Linked DNA regions of Homo sapiens: region 1 is linked to region 2. Evidence: promoter capture Hi-C in human tissues and cell types (Jung and others, 2019). All regions are on one chromosome and are shown on one strand. The core of a region is centred on a gene start or on the middle of the fragment in contact, and the rest is flanking DNA. Distances in the headings are between cores, read along the strand shown. Region 1 overlaps LOC105371899 (a long non-coding RNA gene). Region 2 holds the start of MGAT5B (alpha-1,6-mannosylglycoprotein 6-beta-N-acetylglucosaminyltransferase B).

Region 1 (3,667 bases), core at 957-3,456, 99 kb after region 2:
ACAGGCACCTGCTACCATGCCTAGCTAATTTTTTGTATTTTAGTAGAGACAGGGTTTTGCCATGTTGGCCAGGCTGGTCTCAAACTCCTGACCTCAGGTGATCCACCCGCCTTGGCCTCCCAAAGTGCTGGGATTATAGGCATGAGCTACTGTGTCCAGCACAGATACTTATGTACCTTTTGTCATAGGGGAAGGGAAGGTGGGAAAATGGGGATGATTTCAAGAAGGATGTTTTAAGAGGATAAATGATTTTTAGGGGGATTCTGTGGGCTTAGAGAACATATAATGGCCTGGGACAGAGTCTGTTGGGCCCACAGAGCAGTGTGTCAAGTCTGCCTAGGTGTGTTGACAGACAGCAGTCTTTCTTCCTGCAATATGAGTTGGTAATGAAAACTCAGGGAAGTGGCTGGGTGTGGTGGCTCACCCCTATAATCCCAGCACTTTGGGAGGCCAAGGCGGGCAGATCATTTGAGGTCAGGTGTTTGAGACCAGCCTGACCAACATGGTGAAACCCTGTCTCTACTAAAAATACAAAAATAAGCCAGGCGTGGTGGCGTGTGCCTGTAGTCCCAGCTACTTGGGAGGCTGAGGCAGGAGAATTGCTTGGACCTGGGGGGCGGAGGTTGCAGTGAGCTGAGATCACGTCACTGCACTCCAGTCTGGGCAACCGAGTGAGACTCTGTCTCAAAAAAAACAAAAAGACAAAAACTCAAAAGAAAAGAAAAGAAAAGCCTCAGGGAAGGCAATTGCATCCTTCTTTGGCAGGTCTGGTTTCCGGGTAGATAAGGAAACTTCAGAGATCGGCTTCATCCTGTGCTCTGAGAGAGACAGAGGACTGCGGGGGAGGTCAGAGAGACCTTGAGGCCACCTCATGTCAAAGCGCCATGTTTTGGGGTATCAGTTGCTGGGTCCTGGAAAGGTCTTTGTTTCCACCCACCCATGTATCCATCCATCCATCCATTAAAAAGTAATTATTGCGTGCCTATCCTGAGCCAAATACTGTGTTTAAGCCCCCAGGACATGGCTCTTTGTCCCCTCTGCCCCTGGAGAGGGATGGCTCACTTGAACATTTAATGCTACAGTGGAATTATAATTATGAAAAACCACACACTGCAATTCAGGTTTAGGATGAAAGTATTAATTTCCTGGTTTTAATTATTCAATAGAAATTAATGAAAATTCAAGAGGAATCTCCAAGGAGCTTCGCTAACTAGCAGAGGTGGGGTGGATCGAGGAGATGAGAGTGGAGTGGAGTAAAGTGGAAGAGAGTGGGGTAAGCCAGAGGCTGAGGGCCCTGCACCTCTGCCCAGCCCAACTCATCTGGGAGCTTTCCCAGGGCCAAGGCACGAGCCTGCTGCATGAACCAAGCCTCAACCAAGACTCAGGGTTTGCTCATTCATCTGGGGGACTTCGGCTGGGCTATGTGTTGAGCTCCATCCCTGCTAGGATGATGCCAGACAGTGGGGAGATGAAGACCCAGCCCTGCCCTCAGGGAGCTCCTGGGTCATTGCAGGCAGACAGACCACACCTGTAGGGCCTGAGCTAAGCCCTGGAGTTCTGGCAACGCAGAGCCGGGCTGCTGGGACGAGGTGGGAGGTGAGGACAGGAAAGGCTTCCCTGAGAAGATGACTGGCAGAGTTCTGAGGGTCTCTCCCTCCTGGGTGAACTGAGAAGCCCCCTCTGAACAGACGCAAGGTAACATTTTAAAGTAGTGACCATTTGGGGCAGGATGATTTCCCAGCGTGGTAATGTGTCATTTGTCCTCACTTTAAAAGAATCCGAATTCAGATCTCTCTCTCCTCTCTCCCCTCTCTCCCCTCTCTCCCCTCTCTCTCCTCTCTCTCCTCTCTCTCCTCTCTCTCCTCTCTCCCCTCTCTCCCCTCTCTCCCCTCTCTCTCCTCTCTCATCCACCCCTAAGGGCTAGGAGGGTGGAAGATAAACTTCTGAGGGTGGGACGGCTCTGAGGCTTGGAGAATGGGAGACAGTTTCACAAAATGTCACTAAATGTTCCCCAGAAAGGAAGAGGATTGGAGCTTTGAGGGCAGATGATTCGGAGGGTGGGGGAACCTGTGTCCCAGTCCTAGGAGGCTCCCTACAAGGTGACAGGTCCTGAAAAGGGATGGCTGGACAGGCCATGATGACCCCAGGAGCTCTGGCCTCAGAAGCCCTGGCAAGGGGTCCCCACACCCAAGCTCAGTGCCAAGAAGGAAGCTTTGGATGGAATGCAATTGATTCCTGCCTTGTGGCCAGTTTTGCATCTATTTGTAAATTCATTTCCATGTTCCTGACTGCCTACTTAGGAGTGCCCTTTGAATTCTCCTTTGAACTTGGTTGTAGCACCTTGCAGGATCCCTCGTGAATTAATGAGTTAAATAAAACCATGGACACGTGTTTGTTCTATTTGATGAAGCCATGATACTCCTTTATAAAAAGTATTCTCTAGCAATGCCTTATAATCCTAGTAGTGAGAACTACTACATGCCCTCATGCTACGAGGAGGAACAGAGGCATAGCGACTTTAAGTAGTTTGCCCAAGGTCACACAGCTAGGTGGGGTGGGGCCAGGATTTGGATGCAGCAATCTGGTTCAAAGTCCTTAAAGAGCACTTGAGCTCTGTTATCTGTCAGTCCCCCAAGTAACCCCACAAAATAGGTACTTTATTTTTAGAGACAGGATCTCACTCTGTTGCCCTGGCTAGAGTACAGTGGCCCAATCACAGCTCACTGCAGCTTCAACCAGGAGGCTGAGGAGCTCAAGTGGCCCTCCCACTTCAGCCTCCTCAGTAACTGGGACTACAGGTGCACACTACTAGGCCCAACTAATTTTTTTACTTTTTGTAGAGTCGGGATCTTGCTATGGTGCCCAGGCTGGCCTCGAACTCCTGACCTCAAGCGATCCTCCTGCCTTGGCCTCCCAAAGTGCTGGGACTACAGGCATGAGCCACCCCGCCAGGCAAAATAGGTACATTATTTATGCTCAAGAACAGCAGCACAGAGGTTAAGTAATTCATCCTCCCTCCCACGGTAAGTGGCTATTTCTGTAGTAGGATCACTGTACACTCTGTGGTGGGTTTGATATCTGCACTCAGGGAAGCGCTGATAGAATATTAACAAAAATTGTGGCTAGCATCTATTGAGCACTTTCTCTTTTTTTTTGAGACGGAGTTTCGCTCGTCGCCCAGGCCAGAGTGCAATGGCGCCATCTCGGCTCACTGCCATCTCCCTCTCCCAGGTTCAAGCGATTCTCCTGCCTCAGCCTCCTGAGTAGCTGGGATTACAGGCGTGCGCCACCACGCCCGGCTAATTTTTTGTATTTTTAGTAGAGACAAGAGTTCACCATTGCTGGCCAGGCTGGTCTCGAACTCCTGACCTCAGGTGATCTGCCCGCCTTGGCCTCCCAAAGTGTTGGGATTACAGGCGTGAGCCACCGCGCCTGGCCCCTATTGAGCAATTCCTAAGTTCCAGATACTGTTGCAAAGGCTATACCCAGATCATCTCATTTACTCCTAAGTCCCTACAAGGAAGGTAATTTCATTAGCCTATGTTACAGATAGAAAGACTTTGAGGCACCCAGAGGGTGAGCGGCTTGAGTTTTTCTTCATCCCTGGGTTTATCTGAAGCTGAGCTCTGCCAGCGGACGTGGCCCGTAGCCGTCTGCCTTAAGAACT
Region 2 (3,452 bases), core at 683-3,182:
TTGAGGTCAGGAGTTTGAGAGCAGCCTGGCCAACATGGCGAAACCTGTCTCTACTAAAAATACAAAAATTTTGCATTTTTATAGGCATTTATTACAGGTATCGTGGCACGTGCCTGTAATCCCAGCTACTCAAGAGGCTGAGGCAGAAGAATCTCTTGAACCCAAAAGGCGGAGTTTGCAGTGAGCCGAGATTGCGCCACTGTACTCCAGCCTGGGAAACAGAGCGAGACTCCATCTCAAAAAAAAAAAAAAAAAAAAAAAAAAGTCACTGGCTGTCCTCTGCTTGCTTCCCTCCCTGGCCCAAGCCAGCCGTCAAATGGCAGAGAGGCTTTCCCGCTCCAACTTCAAAGTCCAGATCTAAGGGTGTGTGGCCCAGGGGAAGAGGGGAGTACCTTCCCCTACCTTCTAAATTCTGGCTTCTGTGGAGGGTAGGCCACCTCCCCAGATGACCCACACCAGAGGTGGCCATGCCTTCTAGGGAACCCCATCTCCACCACTGAGGAAGAGGCTTCCCCTTTGGCCTAAAATGGCAACCAGATATAAATGCCACCCCCTAAGCCTACTCAATCAGAAGAACCCCCAATCAGAAGAGAGACACCTAATCAGAAGGACCATTTCATTCCTTAGTGTAGATATGGCTTATTGCCAGGATTTGTGGCAGATGTAGGCACCCAGGCATGAGATGTGATTTACAGGCCTGGCAGAGACCTCTGCCCTCCAACATCTCCTTAGCCAGCCTGCCACGATGCCCAAATTTCCGGCCACCATTCATCACTCTTCTGCACAAAGGCACGGTCAGCATGTCCTTGTTCAATGCAAATTTGTTACCTAGCCTGTGTAACACATTATATCTGCTAACACCAATTTATCACCCATTTTCACATTAGCAGAGAGCAAGGCAGTGAGATAATGGAACTCAGCACCGGTAAATTTTGATGAAGAAGGAGCAGCAAAGCAGAGAGCGTGAGTCATGGCCAGTGAGTAATGGCCCAGGAAGGGGGCCGGGAGGTGGGCAGGGCAGGCAGCAAGGGGCCTGGGTATGGGGGATTGGAGGGGACCAGGCCCAGCTGGAGGAAAATAAAGTCTCCTCCTCGCATAAGCCAGGCTGCAGCATCGTGGCCTGAGCTGGGAAGACCCTCAGAGTCATTTGACACATGACTGAGGCTTTGGGCACTTCCCAGGGTGGGGTGGTCAGATATGACCTCGGGAAGTGCTTTTGAAGCCGGAGAGCTTTCTTCAGGCTGGCTCTGCGAGCTCCCAGGAGTCTCTGTCTCTGCAACTGCAAACACATCTCCAGAGCCAGGAAGTACGAGGAGGGGGAGGGGAGGACGCCTAGATGCTAAGAGACGACATGAGATCCTACATGCTTTAGGGTTGCAAGGGACCTTGGTGAGCTTCTGGTCACTATCATTTCATAATGGAGACTCTGAGACGTGCACACTTGATCGCCCACTGGCTAGTGGAGGATCTGGGGCTACAACTCAGTACGCCCCTGCGCCTGGCTCTGTGAGCGGGCCCCAGCACCACAGGCCGAGTTTATACTCAGATCAGTAAGCAAAGAGGAGCCACGGGAGTTTCTGACCAGGGAGGGGCAGAAGATAGGCATGTGTTGCCAAGCGAAATCGTGGGAAGCGGCTGATGAGGAAGCCCACGGAGGCACCTGGCAGAAGAGAAGGGTCTCCGCTGGGTGCGCATCTCTTCTGTGCTCTGCGGGAGCCAAAGCAGCTTTCGGCCCTCGGGGCTGGTGGCGCCCTGGGAAGCTGCTTGGCTCAGGGGAAGGAGCAGGGACCCCCGCCCGCCCGTCCTCGAAGCTGGTCCTCGGCGTCCCAGCCCCGCACGGCCCCGGGCAGGGCGCACAGCGGGGCTGCGGCCACGAGGTGGCGCCGGCGCGCCTTGGAAGCGCAGCTGCAGCTCCCGGGCCGCCCCAGCGCCGCTCGGCCGCCTCCTCCGAGGAACAATGCGGCGCCTCCGGGCGTAGCGTCGCGCGGGGCCGGACGCCGGACACCAGAGCGCGGGCGGCGGAGCCAGCGGGCGAGAGAGCGCGCGGCGGGCGCGGGTTGCCCTCGTCGAGAGCCATGGGCGCGGCGCGGCGCGGGGCTGAGGATCGGCGCGGCCCGGAGGCGCTGGGGACCGGGGCGCGGGCCCGGGGCCGCCTTTAGCCGGCACCGAGGGCGCGGGGCCGGGGATGAGGGCGCCCGCCGCGGGGAGCCCGTCTGCGCGCCGCGGCACCTTCCCGCCCAGCGAGCGAGCCCGAGCAGGCAGACGCGCGGCCGGCGGTCTGGGGGCGCGCCGCCTCCCGGTCCCCAAAATGTGAAGCGGGGAGGGCGGAGACGCAGAGACGGCCCGGCCGGGCGCCCTCGCCGCCCTCCGGCAGCCGCGCCGCTCCCTCCGCTGCACGCCCAGGCCTGAGCAGCGAGGCCACCGGGCCGCGCGCTCCCAGCTTCGCTCGGACGCGGCTTCGGCCCGCAGAGGGTTCGTGGCCCGGACGCGGCGAGAGCTGGGCCCAGGACGGTGCGTCCGGCCTCGCCCGCGGCTGCTCGCACCAACAAGTTTGAACAATGATCACCGTCAACCCCGATGGGAAGATAATGGTCAGAAGATGCCTGGTCACCCTGAGACCCTTTCGGTAAAGTTCCCTCCTGGTTGGTTTTTTCCCCAGGGGGGCGCCGGGTGGAGGTGGGCGAGGTCGGTTCCTGCGAACGTTCAAGTCCTGGTGGCAGAGGGGGCGGTTCACACTTCAACCCCTGGTGATGACCAGTGGGGCTGGGCTGGGGGAACGGATGGCGTTGGGGTTCGGGGTGCGGATGGGGAGGGTTGTGTTATTCGGGGACCTGTCCCGAGTTGGGCAGGGTTGGAGAGGACTCGGGGTGCAGAGGTAAGAATGGGGGCAGAAAACCCCCAGGTCGTGGTCCTGGGCCCAGAAAGTTGCCCCAGCCTGCGCGCCCCTTCCCAGCCCCTCAGGGTCCTTCCTCACCCCGCGGACGGTCCCATCCGGGTGGCAAAGTTAGTGTGCGGCGCCTTGGAGCTCCCCCTCCGGTCCCTCCCGTCCCGCCCGTCTGCCCCTAGGTCGGCTACCCCCCAACCCCTCCGCCTGTGCCACCCTCTCCCCAGCCTTTGGTGGCACTGCTCTCCTCCCCGCGGGGCTCGGGCCTGGCTCCGACGAGAGGGTCCCGAGATTAGAGCGAGGACTCGCTCATCCCAGGATTCGCCCCCGATCGCAGGCGTCGGAGAGGCGGGGGCAGGGGCGGCGCTGCAGGGCTACGGGGCGGCTGGAGCCGAGGCTGCGGCGGAGCGTGGTGGGCGGGCGGTGGCGAAGGCGACACGCTTCGGGCGGCCAACACCTGGGGGCCCAGGCCAGGCAGGGCTGGGGCCGCGCGGGACTCACTGGACCCAGCCAGGGGCCCCCAGGGCCCAGCGGTGCCGGGGCAGCCCCCTCTCCTCCCAGGCATCCG

The links. Contacts are between HindIII fragments. The study calls those that stand out against the background at their distance.
Region 1: a fragment that was not itself captured here is called in contact with the fragment with the promoter of MGAT5B in region 2 in 2 of the 25 tissues and cell types used here (adrenal gland and dorsolateral prefrontal cortex).

The regions. Positions count from the first base shown.
Region 1 is chr17:76,965,160-76,968,826 of GRCh38, forward strand. All of the region lies in intron 1 of LOC105371899 (a long non-coding RNA gene), which reads right to left. Among named protein-coding and RNA genes, the nearest start is that of MGAT5B, 99 kb to the left of the region's middle. The HindIII fragment of the contact is 4,995 bases long and covers 1-3,667 here.
Region 2 is chr17:76,866,472-76,869,923 of GRCh38, forward strand. MGAT5B (alpha-1,6-mannosylglycoprotein 6-beta-N-acetylglucosaminyltransferase B) reads left to right here and starts at 1,933. Exons shown (of 18, transcript NM_001199172.2): 1 at 1,933-2,626. The coding sequence starts at 2,559. RefSeq lists an enhancer at 1,136-1,430 and a silencer at 1,768-2,077. The HindIII fragment of the contact is 29,656 bases long and covers 1-3,452 here.